2 separate regions of the Homo sapiens genome follow, and region 1 is linked to region 2. Evidence: promoter capture Hi-C in human tissues and cell types (Jung and others, 2019). All regions are on one chromosome and are shown on one strand. Each heading gives the region's core, a stretch centred on a gene start or on the middle of the fragment in contact. The rest is flanking DNA. Distances are from core to core; before and after follow the strand shown.

What was found. The method cuts DNA at HindIII sites, captures the fragments that hold promoters and counts their contacts. A contact is called where the count stands out against the background at its distance.
Region 1: a fragment that was not itself captured here is called in contact with the fragment with the promoter of KITLG in region 2 in 1 of the 25 tissues and cell types used here (pancreas).

The regions. Positions count from the first base shown.
Region 1 is chr12:88,611,712-88,618,961 of GRCh38, reverse strand. No RefSeq gene overlaps it. Among named protein-coding and RNA genes, the nearest start is that of KITLG, 35 kb to the right of the region's middle. The HindIII fragment of the contact is 3,661 bases long and covers 1-3,481 here.
Region 2 is chr12:88,574,379-88,581,911 of GRCh38, reverse strand. KITLG (KIT ligand) reads left to right here and starts at 1,441. Exons shown (of 10, transcript NM_000899.5): 1 at 1,441-1,648. The coding sequence starts at 1,634. It overlaps LOC105369885 (a long non-coding RNA gene), which reads right to left and starts at 1,376. Exons shown (of 4, transcript NR_188177.1): 1 at 1,302-1,376. It also overlaps the pseudogene RNU1-117P. The HindIII fragment of the contact is 2,929 bases long and covers 1-2,127 here.

The DNA of each region.
Region 1 (7,250 bases), core at 402-2,901, 37 kb before region 2:
CCTAGGATGCTTTTATGCTTGTTTTGTATCCTCTATCTAACAGAGCTGATAAAATCCTATACTCTCAGCAATGACACCCAAATCTGCATCAACAGCCCCACTTTTGCACTGAGCTCAAGGACCCCCTTCTGCATAGCCACCAGTATCTCAAGCATGGCATGTCTAACAGGAAATGGAAGTCTTCCTCCTCACTTTCCCACCAACCCTGTTCCCGCCACCCCATGTATTACTCATATCAGTTAAGGATAAACCAGTATATCAGTTCTTCACGTTAGAAATGGCATTGCCGTTCCTCACTCCTCCTCTTAACTTACTCTTTACATCAGTCAATCATCAACTCCTAAGAAGTCCACCTCCCAAATATTTATTTACTCTTTCATCTCCTCTCTCCTCCCATTGCTATTATCCCAGTCCTTGTCATTGTCACTTGGAGCAAAGGATGCCCTAGAAGGCATCCCTATGTGGAATCTCTGTCCTCCTCCAATCCCAAACATTTTGCACCAAAATGCCAGAATATTCCTCAAATGCTGGAATCTTCCTAATCTATGCTTTTGACCATTCATTTCCTTCAGCTGGAGTGTCCTTCTTTGCCAAAAAAACTCCTTCAGAATGTAAAGTAAACAGTTTCTCTTCCATAAATCCATGCCTGGCATCATCTCTCCACACCTCCTCATAAGCAGTGAGACCTTCCTCTGTGCTCCCACTGTGCATCTACCTCTATCAGGATGCATTCTAACCTCATCTGGCCAACACGTTAGCAAGCGCTCATAACAATATATTGTGATAACACACATCATTTCAAAACCCTACTCACTCTAGAAAACCTACTAAACTGAGAACTCTGGTGCTACAAAGACACATTTTTGAACCCTAGTAACAGATCTAAACCCTATCTTCCAAAATCTGTCCATTTATTCTTTCATATATTTATGTATCCAGTAACTATCAAGTACCTACTGTGTGCCAGACATGGCTCTAGGTGTTAGGGATAGAGCAGTGAGCAAGATAGATAAAAACCCGACCTCCTACTGCTTACATTCTAGTGATAAAAACAAACAATAAACAAATATTTAAGTAGAATATATCATATCCCAGGCAACAATGGATGTTAGGGAGGAAAATCAAGCAGAAAAGGGAATCGTGTTGGGACATGGTTAAGGGTGGGGGTATTCTAAATAAAGCAGTCGAGGAAGAGCTTAAGATATCATAATTCTAGTCTGTACTCTAGGGACAGCTTCCTATAAAATCCAGGGAAAGTAAGACACTGAGCCTCTGTTTCAGTCCCTTAGGAAAAACAGTGGGAGGAATAAATGGTATATAATGGTTGGGAACCCAAAGTGCCCTTCATCTTGCCACCATTTCCTGTGGATTCATGAGAAGTATGAATAGACAGAAATGTTTTCAACAAGAGAATACAGTTATGGGTCATATGTCTCTTGGGAGAACTTTGGACTTTATAATGAAGGGAAACCTTGCAGCCCTAGGGCCTTATGGGGAACTTCAGAGACGTTATGTTAGTGAGAGAGTGTGGTGTCCAGAAAGAGACCAAGGCACCAAGCTAGTGTGAGCAGGATCATCAGAAGAACAAATCCTATATCCTGACCAATGTTAAGTGGTAGAATCTGACAAAAGCAGCAGTAGTACCCAGCACAGCTGTCAAAGCCCAGCAGACACCACAGTTTCTAGTAGAAAAAGCCTGGAACAAAAGAGGGAAGAAATGGTAAATGCCCACAGGAAGCAATGAATAAAGTTGGCACATAAGCACATGTGAGATACCTCTTGGGTTTCCAGAGAATTTTTAGAAGGATGCTTTAGAGAGATTTTGTGTCCTTTATCATTAGGAAGTGCAGGTGGGGTGGAACAAATCAAAGCATGTTATCAAGAACAAGCTTGGACCTGAATGCTCCAGTCAGGCTGAAGAAGGCTTGGTAGCCTTAAAAAGCAGAGGTAGCCCAGTTCTCGAACAAGAAAATAAATGGGTAGTAGTCTTGGGGAGGGTGTCTCTTAAATTAATATTTTTATTTTTTATTTATTTATCTCTTTTTTCTCTACACAGGAGACATGGAGCCCACTTACAAACTAGTTCCAATTCCATGAAATCCCCTGTTTTTACGTAATTAATTTTATGTATATTATTTTTTCAAATGTGCCAACAATTTTTATGCTATCAGGCTGATGCGTAGCTTTAGAAAACACTATTTCCAGAATTATACACATAACGTTGCATTACAACAAACAAAAGTCATTTTTAAATAGGAATATTGTAATGAAGAAGTGTTTTGTTTCATTCTCTAACAAAATTTAGATCCTTTAAATACCATATTCAACTATTTCATTGACATTCTGGTGGGCTTCCCTGGGCTTCTCTTACCTAATAATCAATTATCAGGGATTATTAAAACAAGTGTCATTACTCAAGCTGTATCCAAAGGCCAGACTTATAAAGAAATTGGCACCCTAGGGACAGTTATTGAAGAGATTTATTTAGTAAGTGATGAAAGCTACAGTCATCATGTAATTCGGAATTTTTTTACTATTATTTAGAACTTAAATTTCTTTCAGGAAATAAAATGATATAAAGCAAGGGTTGTATGACAAATTCACAAATGTAAACACTGACACTTCCCTTCCTATCATTCTAGACTGTGAACTAAAGAATATCCTTACAATAGTATATTATATTTGTAAATGATGTCATTTGGAATGATAGATTGCTCCAAAGAAGGCAGAACATTTATTGGGGGCAGGGAGGAGGGAGAGAGAGACAGAGAGAAGATTGGAAGACTATTTCTGTACAAATTATTTCATTCTTGAAGTTAGTTAGAAGCAGGCAACGTACTACCCTGCTGTACAAAGTGCTTTCCTTCAGCGACTGTCTTTACCTCTTCTATATCTGTCTAGGTGCAGGTTTGGGAATGAAGCTTCAGATCAAAGAGAAGAAGCAAGCCCCTGACAATGATCCAGAAACCCAGCATATCACTCAGTAGAAACAAAACAGGACTGCCATATAGTGCCTCTTAGGCCCCGTGTTTCCCACTCTGGCAAATACTCCAACTTGCCTCTACCTGTCTCTGATCCATCTCCACATAGACTGGTTCTAACCTTTAACAGATAGAACAGAGAGGCCATGACTCAGACAATTTTTAGTAACATAGCTTGCTTTTTCATGTGGAGGACACAAGAACATACCACTTGGATACTTTGCTTGAATTCATACAACTTCTCACCCAGTCTCTTTGACCAAGTCCCTGATCCCTGATCCATTATTCCTGCCTGAGTTATGCACCTCAGTGGTTGTACTTGTAGTGTGCTGGAGCTGATTCACACTGGCTCACAAGAATGGATTGTTAAAACTTCAAAAAATATGTGAGCCTGTTCATCTCGCTGTGGTAGCTTGAAACTGGTCATAGCAGGAGTATTTACACCAGAGAAATTGGCACAAGATTTAAATCAAGGTGTTCTTCCTCTTCCTACCCTTACCTAACATCCTCCTCAAACCATACTCCTGTTCTCCTGCCCAAGAGAGTTCATTGTTAAACATATACCAGAAAACCACTGCTGACCCAACATGGAAAACTCACTTGCTGATGCTTTATCTAATTTCCATGGATATATTATCTAACACACTTGACTCCTTGTCTGGCAGGATCTTAGTCCTACTCCTTTTAACTTACTCTTCCCTGCTGATGTCCATGTCTTAGCATGAGAGTATATTCTGCCAAAAGCTGCTTCAGCAATGGTGATAAATATCTATCTTGTCTCAAGTATCATCTGGTTTCAGAGTCTGAGTAAACCTGAACTTACAAGTGGATTGTACATTCACTAGCTCTTCAGCCACCCTATTCTATTTCTAACAAATAATTGCTCTTCCTCAGCATCCCTAATAAACACAACATGTTATCTTCTTAATAAACATTCTTTTGGCAATGTAGGTGACCATTTCAAGGAGGAAACACCATTTGGTGAAAAAAAATACGTATAATTTACTGATTTTTAAAAATTCCACAGTATTTATAGGGGTAGCAAGGGACCCAGATTAAGCTTGAGTTTTAACCCTGGTCAGATTTAGTTTTGTATGCACATGTTTAATGAATCAGTGGGGTGACCTACTAGAAGTCTCTGTATAAGAAATCCTAAGTAGCCTCCTAGGATGCAACTGGCTCTAAGGAAAAAGATAGTGAGGAACTATGGCTTTCCCAGTACCAAAACTCCCTTACTATAGAAGAAGGGTAATTGTGAGATGAATTCAATTCAGAGGTCACGTAGAGTCACCTTGCTTTATAGAAACTAGATAAGAATGCATTAGCCCAGTCCCTTCATAGATTTAAGCCCTACGTCATTCTCAAGATTTCTGAAAAAAATTACAGTGTTTATGTTTCCATGGTTCATAAATTAGTTCAATAATAACTTTATTGAATAATTATTGAATAAACAAATTTCATCAAATTAGTTTTTTCATCAAATTAGTTCAATGTTAGGGTCATTTTGCATCACAGCTGTATTGTTCCTATTCTATATCATGTTAATTCAATTACCAGATTCTTCTGTTTCCCTAATCCCACATTTCAGGTGGGGAGATGGGAGCAGCAACAAGAGCCAAGACAGTCTTGTGCAGAAGACTTTACTGGGGAGACCCTGGGATTTATAACATAGGAACATGCTATGGTTTGCACATTTGTTCCCTCCAAAATTCATATGTTGAAAACCTAGTCACTAACATGGTGGACTAGGAGATGGGGCCTTGGTGGGTGATTAGATCATAAGGTTGGAGGCCTCATGAATGGGATTAGTGTCCTTATAAAAGATACTCCAGAAAGTTGTTTTGCTCCTTTCAGTATGTGAGAACACAGCTAGAATGCATCATCTGTGAACCAGAAGGCAGGCCCTCACCAGACACTAAATATGCCAGCACCTTTATCTTGCACTTCCAAGCCTCCAGATCTGTGAAAAATTAATTTCTGTCTATAAGCAACCAGTCTATGGTATTTTGTTATAGCAGCCCAAACGGACTAACAGAGAACCCAAATCAAAATTTCTAAAAATACTTTTAGGTATTACCAAAATAGTGCTTTCCTTTTATATCTGTTCTCTCTTGCACCATCTCTCTTTCTCTCTCTCTCTCTGTCTGTCTTTCTCTCTGTCTCTGATACCAGCTCTAGAAATGCTTAATCCAAAAGAGAAGCAGGTTCCCTGCTTTGCAAAGGAATAACATTCAACTCCAGCACCCAGGTGATTGCAGGGCATGCTAGGTAGCAGAAGACAGCTGAATTTAGTGGGAGAGCGTGGTGGTGTCCAGAAAGAGACTAAGGCACCAAGCTAATGTGAGTGGGATCATCAGAAGAACAAATCCTATATCCTGACCAATGTTAAGTGGTAGAATCTGACAAAAGCAGCAGTAGTATCCAGCACAGCTGACAAAGCCCAGCAGGCACCACAGTTCCTAGTAGAAAAAGCCTGGAATAAAAGAGGGAAGAAATGGCAAATGCCCACAGGAAGCAATGAATAAAGTTGCCACATAAGCACATGTGAGATACCTCTTGGGTTTCCAGAGAATTTTTAGAAGGGTGCTTTAGAGAGATTTTGTGTCCTTTATCATTAGGAAGTGGAGGTAGGAGTGGAACCAACCAAATGTAAGTATAGGTGGAAAATAAACTTGATAAAATTTGATCACTATTTTCAACATTCTAGAGCTGAGTACTAAACCAGATTTAAATAAACAGGTAAAATTTAACATTATTTATTATTTTAATCATTCACCAAGCATTTATTAATTTTTTAAATCCCATCACCAGTTAGGGCTCAGAATTTATGAGTATGGTATTGGGTTTTGTTTTTGTAGATACTATTAATGTATGAATTTCTGCTTATCAAATTTTGCAAGCAAAATTTCTGGGTCTATAGAGTAAAAAGTCTTTAAGAATAATAAAGCATTTGCAAGTATCATTAAGACACAAAATTCATACTTACCTAATAGGCAAAAATAATGAAGTAAAATTAAAACTTTAGGTAAGGTACTAGGATGAAAGGAGAAAAGGGGCCATATATAAGATAACAGAGGATCTGTTATGGTCATGAGTGAAATATACACACTATCTTAAAAAATGATTGTTGTGGTTTTGTTTTTATATTGGTCACAATTTTCAGTGACAGTCAGTGGGGCATGTACCACAGAATCCATATGAAACCCAATGGATTCCTTTATGATCATATGTGATGTAGCAGTTAATTTTATGTGTCAGTTTGGCTGGGAGATGGGGTGCTTAAATTAAAAACTTTGGGGTATGTCTGTGAGGGGGTTCCCAGGTGAGATTAGCATTGAGTCAGCAGACTCAGTAAAATAGATTGCCCGCTCCAATGTTGGTGGGTATATTAGTCCGTTCTCACATTGCTATAAATAAATACCTGAGACTAGGTAATTTACGAAGAAAAGAGCTTTAATTGACTCATGGTTCTGTAGGCTGTACAGGAAGCATAGCAGATTCTGCTTTTGGAGAGGCCTAGGAAACTTACAATCACGGTGGAAGGCAAAGGGGATGCAGGCATGTCATATGGCCACAGAAAGAGCAAGAGCGAGAGGAGGGAGGTGCTACACACATTTAAATGACCAGATCTCATGAGAACTCTGTCACTATACAATACCAAGCGGGGATGGTGCTAAACCATCCATGAGAACTCTGCTCCCACGATCCAATCACCTCCCACCAGGCCCCACCTCCAACACTAGGGATTTCAATTCTACATGAGACTTGGTGAGGACACAGATCCAAACCATGTCATTGGTCATCATCCAATCCAATGAGAGCCTGAATAGAATAAAAAGCAGAGGGAAGAATAATTCATCCCCCTCCTTTCTGCCTGCTTGAGCTGGGACATCTGTCTTCTGGTTTGCTTAGACTGGAATGTATACCGTTGGCTCCCCTGGTTATCAGGCCTTTGGACTTGAACTGAAATTACATCACCAGCTTTTTTTTGGGTCTCCAGCTTGTAGATCATGTAACTTCTTAGCATCTACAATTGTGTGTGCCAATTCTTCATTATCTATCTATCTATCTTTCTATCTATCTATCTATCTATCTATCTATCTATCTATCTATCCTATTGGTTCTGTTTCTCTGGAGAAGACTGATTAATACATGAGTGTTCCCCAGCTGAGCCAAAAAAAAAGTTAAATGAATTCTCATAAATCAATAATTTAGGCATGGTAATTCTGTTTTTTGTTTTTGGAGAAAACTCCAAACTGCTTTGCACAG
Region 2 (7,533 bases), core at 192-2,691:
TGATATTTGATGTTCGATATATTTGTACTAAGAGTACCTAATGTATAAAAATCTTTCTAAGCAACTATCAACTTGGAATCATGATTGATGTGCTGTCTATACATATTTTTTCTAACATGAGAAAGTGAGAACGCAGTCCCCCACTAAATTATGCAGTCGAGTTTCCCACATTTGGGGAAATCACAGAAGTCAGCACATCTGGAGTGAAATAAACAAGCTTCGCCCTGATTACAGGTTTGGCATATTCATGTTTAACAAACGCACCGGAACTAATTAAAGCAAATTTGGACTCCTACTCTATTATTAAAATAACTAATTCCTAAACTCATACATTATTCTTTCTTTTAAAGATCACTGATGTTAATGTTCAGCTAATATTTTCTTTTAAAAAATTAATGAAATGCTTTGGAATGTTCTCCAGTTATACAAACAAAAACAGACACATTCTGGAGAATCAATAAAATATTTGAAGTATTTTTTAAGACTGTACAGCTGGAGCTCCAGGTTTAAATTAGAGCTCTGCCATTTACTAGATATGGTTGGTCAAGAAAATTAACCTTGTATTTCATCGTCCATAAAATGGGAATAAAATAATAAGATCTACACTAATAGATTTGATGAAAGAATTTAATGAGATAATCTATGCGAAGTTCTTAGTCTGGCACCTGGCACATGAATAAGTGCATCACATAATGATGTTAGCTATTATTATTGTGGTTGCATTATCTTTCCGTTCAAAAAAGTACAACTTTCAAAGCCTTGCTGTGTTGGCGACCTGTAGTTTAATAATCTATCGCTTCTCTTTCAATCTTAATTTCTAAAGACACAGTAACAAACCATTCCAAATGAAGCGTCTCCCCTTGCAATACTTAACCTTGAGTCAACAATTCTTGTAATTATTAAATATTCATTCACTAAAGTAATTGTTTTTTTTAAAAAATAGAGGTGATAGGACAATGGCCTAACTACAGATCGCAATTAAACTTTATTTCTCTAAGGCAGGCAGGGTGAATTCTTTGCTCCGAACCTCCCGGACTCCTCTCCCTCTCCGACTTTGTATAACAGAGGGAGCTCCGAGCCCTCTCTGGCGCGCGAGGTATTTCGTCTGTCCCCGGGGGTGCCAGGTGAGCCCCAGCGGATCCGGGAGGGTAAGCTGGGACTCCTCGCGAGCAGTAGCTGCAGGGTACCAAGCTTCGCCCTCTGCGTCCCCGCGCCTTCGCGGTCTCCCGCCAGTGCAGGTCCGGGGCCCCCAGGCGAGCGGACAAGGTTGGCCTAATCTGCCAAACTTCTGGGGCATTTACCGTGCTCTGGCCGCCCTCCCGATTCTTCCCTCCGCGCCCTTGCCTGCTTCTCGCCTACCCCGGGCTCCGGAAGGGAAGGAGGCGTGTCCGGAGCAGGCGGGCGGGAACTGTATAAAAGCGCCGGCGGCTCAGCAGCCGGGCTTCGCTCGCCGCCTCGCGCCGAGACTAGAAGCGCTGCGGGAAGCAGGGACAGTGGAGAGGGCGCTGCGCTCGGGCTACCCAATGCGTGGACTATCTGCCGCCGCTGTTCGTGCAATATGCTGGAGCTCCAGAACAGCTAAACGGAGTCGCCACACCACTGTTTGTGCTGGATCGCAGCGCTGCCTTTCCTTATGAAGAAGACACAAGTGAGTAGGGCGCGCCCGGGAGCTCCCAGGCTCTCCAGGAAAAATCGCGCCCGGTGCCCCGGGGAAGCCGGCGCTCCCTGGGACTTGCAGCTGGGGCGTGCAGGGCTGTGCCTGCCGGGTGAGACAAGAGGATGCGGGGGAGGCCGGCGTGGTGTGTGATCCCGAGCCGAGCCGGGTGAGCCAGGGAGAAAAGGAGTGGGAGTGCTGAGAGGGAGCCAGTGTCAAGTTTGGAGCCTCAGCAGTTAAGTTTTGAGCTGTCAGTCGGAAACCGTAATTCCCGTCTGGTGGAAAGATTGGCTTTTGGGCCATGGAATGTTAAGTTATCACGGGAAGGCATGTCTTTGCATAGGAGACGGTTTTCCCGTGGATTCCAGGAGATTATGAAACAGCACCCCACGCGCCACCCTCACTAGCTCTCTCACTCAGATTTATTTGTGTAGCCCCGAGGTGGGCGCCGGGCACCAGGAGCGGCGCGAACGCGGGTGCAGCCGCGGGAGCGAAGCCAACGCGGAACTCCTAAGCGGCAGCTCTCGGCGGGGCGGGAACCTGCCCGCCTGCCCGGGAAACTTGGCTCTCGGCGGTGTCTGCCTAGTTTGCAGCTCTGTGTGGGCTCTAAAGAGCTCTAGTACCTCCACAATGCACGCACCTTTTTCCATTTCAAAAGGGATAAAGGCTTTTTATAAAATAGGCACCTCTGAATGATAGTGATTGAGATAATTCCCAGTGCTGCTAAATTCTGCATTATACATAAAGCACTGTGGGTAAAGCGCTGCCTGGGGGGACAATTAGATTTTTTTTTCCCTTGAAGAAAATACCTGGTTCTTCGTTTAGAAAGGGCCGCCACGGTGCCCCTATCCACAGTTCTCTTCACCATTGTTGATTGTTACCTCCTCTCACTTTCCCCCTTAGAAATTGTTATGTGTTATCTGCCGCGGTTGGCTAAGGGTTGCCCTTTCACCCCCCAGAGGTTCTGTTGGAGATTGCAGTTCCTGAAATGTGTGGAAGGGGTGGAAGTGGTGGGGAAAAAGGAAACCGGGGTGTTTGTACACATCGTTGGTGTAGAATGAAGGCATCAATGTGCTCAAAATGCTTTATCAAATGACCTGCTTAGCATCATATTTTAAACAGATATCTAGGCCTGCAAAAAGTTGCAAGACTCTAGCCCCTTGTACCGGTGTGGTAAAAGGCAGGGGAAAGGGACATTGCCTGGCTAAAAGAGGCTTGCATAGTCTCTAGAGCACTCTCTAAGAGAAAAGACGCGATGTGCCTCTCCCCTCTCTTACAAGCAGGTTAGCTTTCAGGCAAGGCATTGAGCACCGCACCTGGAATCACCACAGCGTGCTGTCGAAATGCAAATGTTAAAGATTCTTGCAACAAAAGAAAAGTTTTATTGTAATCTCTTGATTTAGACAAGCTTTCTGCGAAATTATAAGAAGGGTAGAGACCTATTCCTTCTTATAGTAGCATCTGCTCCCATGGATGGTGGTGAGATCTGGGGGAAGAAGCTGCTACCTTCTAGTTCAGGAAAAGAGCCTAAACCTTCCTATTTAAACAAGAACACAGGAGACAGATAAGGTTAATGTCCAACACTCCAAAGCCAGGGGATGTACTATCAAGTCACTTTGAGAGGCAGTAGGATTGATTATCCTTGCACCCTTGCTTTGCAAAACAAATGTGAGCTCTGTAATCTCCTTTCTCGCTTTGATTAAATGGCTGTGTAAATCGGATTACATGGAATAATTCCATTGAAAACTAGAAAGAGGTCAATCTAGTCTGAAACATTGTGACTGTGGCATTAGTGACTCAGTGCTGCCGACCAGAGAAATTTGAGAAAGCTAAGTATTTTAGATATGTGACCTGTTCGGTCACACATCACACAAGTTAAAGTGCAGGCCCTTTGGGGGAACTTGCTGATGTTAAACGGCTTGTAGGCAAAGGAGGGCAGTACCCTTGTTGAATGAAGGCATTCATTGCCTAGGATCTAATGACCTTCAAGGTTTTTTTTAAGAATACTTCTAGCGATTCCACAGTCACTGAAAAAGGGGACACTGGAAATAGCCCAAAATCAATAAAATAATCTGCAGAAATGGAGGAGGGGATTAGATCTTTCATATTGTTAAATTTTCTAATCCAAAAATTACAAAGACATTTTCTGTGCAATGCTGCATGGATGGAAGGTAGCCTATGTAAATTGGACATTAAGAAATAGGATCGATTGTTCTGATTCTAATGTTATCCTCACCAGGGAAGAATATCTATTAATATTTAGTAGTTTAAATAGTCATTTATAAACATGGCATCAATACCATGGTTCTATTATAAAGCAACTTGTTCTGTACTCTCCTACTACCCCACATATAAAAAAAATTTATAGTAATATTTTAAAATGGGGTTTGATTTGAATTACACAGCTCTCCAAGAATCATGGGGACTCCAGGTATTCTGGCCTTTCCGTCAAGCTAAGTAAGTGTGAAAATTCCATCAACAACCACTTGGGGTTTGATGAATGATTCATTCATTTAGCATGTTGGTACACTTCAGTATTTCCAATATAATGACACAGGCAATAAATTTAAGCACAGTTCTACAGAAATGAATGTCTTTTGAATTTTTCAGATTTCTGTTTGATTTTATTTTATTCAGATTGTGTGGTTTTACAGTTTTCTAGAGGTGTTTGTGGCTTGGGCTTAGAAAAAACATCTCTTTCAATGTGTAACTATTTTTTAAACATAATATTCTGATACACCATATTGGATAACAATCAAGGCACCATATTTTGCAACACTGATTAAGATTTGGTTAAAAGTGCCATTAGCTTAATGTGCCTGGTGTTACATTTATCAATGTTGTGCTTACATTTTAGTTTGGGGATGGTTTGTGAGAAGTGTCATAACTCCTGTCAATTTCAGAAATACTGAGATAAGAAAGATTGATCTTGCAAACAATGTAAAAAAGGCCATTTTAGGCATACTAACTCTCAGAGAATAAGCAAATAGAATGCTAATTTTCACTACTCCAAAGAAAATATCTCTTTTATGTCTGTATGAAGTTTGTCATGTGGGTGATGATGCAAGTTTACTTTGTAGAAGAAAATTAACATACTTATGAAAAGAGCATTTTTTTAGTCTTGTCCTTAAGATCACTCAATTTGGAATGTATGCTTTGAATAATTCCAATTTATGTAGCTTTTAATTGATACATTCTGCCAAGACTTTAAAACCCAAGTGCTAAGTTGATTACATTTAACATAAAACAAGGAAAATAACCATATGGAAATCTGAAAGTCTGGGCCAAACCAATTAAAATTGCTAAATTTTATTTACGTCTAACTGCTGATTTGAAGATAGCAAATTCTGGGTCACATTTTTTTTTTAATAATAGGTGACTGAAATGTTTCCATCACCATAAATCACATAAAAATTTCTCACTCAAATAGCAAGTGTGGGTATTGGAGGTTTTTTACATGGATTGGCAAATTCCACTACATGTGGCCTTCGCTTTATATCTGAGAATAAACCATATCTGAGCATATATGAGAAACACCTAAAATATGGTTGGTAGAAGGATTCTAGGTTCTAGCTTCTGAAGACTTAGATTCTAATTCCTGTTTTACTACTCATGAGACAAATGACCTTAGGCAAATATTTGTTAAACTTTTTGGGATTTCTGTTTTTTGTAATCTGTATGATGATTATAAAAGTTATAAAGATTTTTCTCGCATGGTGGTTTTAAGGACTAAATGAAATTTTATATGTGTCTTTATACCAGCATAGTAGCTTACTATATGTACAGTTTGAATTTATTGTTCCTGAGAAGAGAGTGCCTGCTGGCCTACTTTTACAAGCCAGAGAAAAACTGACTTATTGCAGGTAAATTATGCCTAATGAACCAAGCACAGAGACCAAGTTTTCCTAAATCTACGTCTGTCGATTTGGTGACTCCCATGATAGGCTAATATCTGTTTATAGACTATAATTAAGACACATCAATCCAGGAATATGTGAAGACAAAGGTGATATGTGGGCTTAAGAGGTGCTACGTTTTTGAAGGTTTTTCTTTTAAAGTACAAATGAATGAGATAATTAGAATAGAAAATAGAAATGGAAAATGGAAATATTATCTTTATCGCTGACTCAGTTTCATATTTCTACACTCTTGCTAAGTTCTCCTTGTATGATTCTAAGGAATTATTTCATTTTATTTTATTTTATTTTGGACTAAAGAGACTTGGTTAGTTTCCCATCCCTAATGTTCTCGCACTTGCTTTTCTGAGTGAGGCCATGCATTCATTTCTGTGGGGTGTCTTTGTTGTCTTTACCAGGCAACGTGCAGTGACATTTTTTTTTCATTATGCTAGTTTGAGACTTTTATTTTTCTTTTCTGGATTATCTTAATGTTCCCTTTTGTAAATTATTTTTATTCCCTTTTGTAAATTTTATTCCCTTTTGTAAATTAGGGCAAGGCATTTGGATATAAATCTCTGAAGAGTGATCTTTTATCTTTCTTTCTAGCACATAAATCATGAGCAGCTGCAAGAAACTGTTCTTGGTCTTACACACTGTTCTTGGTCTTAGTCACGTGTGTAGACAGAACAATTTACAAAACAAGTTGAGGGAACACCAAGATATTTTTATAATATATGCTGCTTTCAGGGTTGTTTTGTATAGGCTCTGTTTCATAGAAACAATTGACTGCAGCCTTTCTGATTTATAGATGCAGCAAGATGTGTTTGCCTTTTCACTTAATTATGGGTATACTAAAAACTGTTTACAGGGGCTGGGAGTTTAAGAGAATTGTCATGATCTCATCTCTACCTATTTCTTTCTCTATAGAAAAAAGAGGTGGGGGAGTGATTTTCTCATAGTTGGGGCTCATGGTTCTTTCTTTAAAATCATAATGTGTGTCATCTAAAGGAAGACTGTTCTTTATGTACCTGTCTTTGTCCTTTGGCTACATTTTACTATTTTTGTAGGCTGCCACTTTGGCTTGGATATTAGGAGGCTGATTTCTTTTATTAACCTGGATAATAAGTAGTAGTAATTTGGGAAATTATTTGAACTCCAGATCTTAGTTTGCTCAACTGTAAAATGAGTAAGTGAGACTAGGTGATTTCTAAGTGCCTTCTGGTTCTAAAATTCTCTATTTCTAAAGTACTAGTAAAATAGATATTTGAACCAGATGGTATTTAAGCTTCCTTCAGTTCTCAGATTTATGCAGCCATTGCTTCAGTGTGAATGCACATTATAACCATTGTTTTATGATTATGAATAAGCCAATGGGGAGAAATGAAGGAGATTTAAATTTAGACTGTTCTACTTTTATGCATTTCACCTACTGCTTGATATTTCTTTGTAAAAAGAATGGTATTTACACTTTCCTGTTTTAGCAAAATCCATAGTTAAAGAGGATCTTTACTTTCTCTGTTCTAAATTTTTAAGTTCTATGAAAAAGAATTCTAAGATAAAGTCAGCTAACCAGAGGAGATAAGCTTACAAAAGGTAATGCTTCCCTGTATTTGCCTGTTTTTTTTCTGTCCCTTTAACTTCCAGTACGTGTGTGCATGGAGTTGAAATGGAGAAAGAAAACCAAGAAGGGATCTGATGATGTAGTAGAAAGAGCACTGAGGGGAGAATCAGAGGAACTGATCCTACCCTTTGCTCTGCCTCAAGATGTGTGACCTTGGACTAGTCTCCCAGTCTTAGTATCTCTGAATCATGCCCAAGATAGTTAATCCTGAGAAGATAGTGAAGATGAGAGGCTGCAGCTGGAGACACGGAGGTGGAAAGAGGAGGGAGCCTCAGGGAAAGGCAGTTCCTGCAGATGATACTATGCCAAATCTCTCCTTGGCTGGCTTTTGTCTGGGTCCAGTACCATCCTTGGAACAG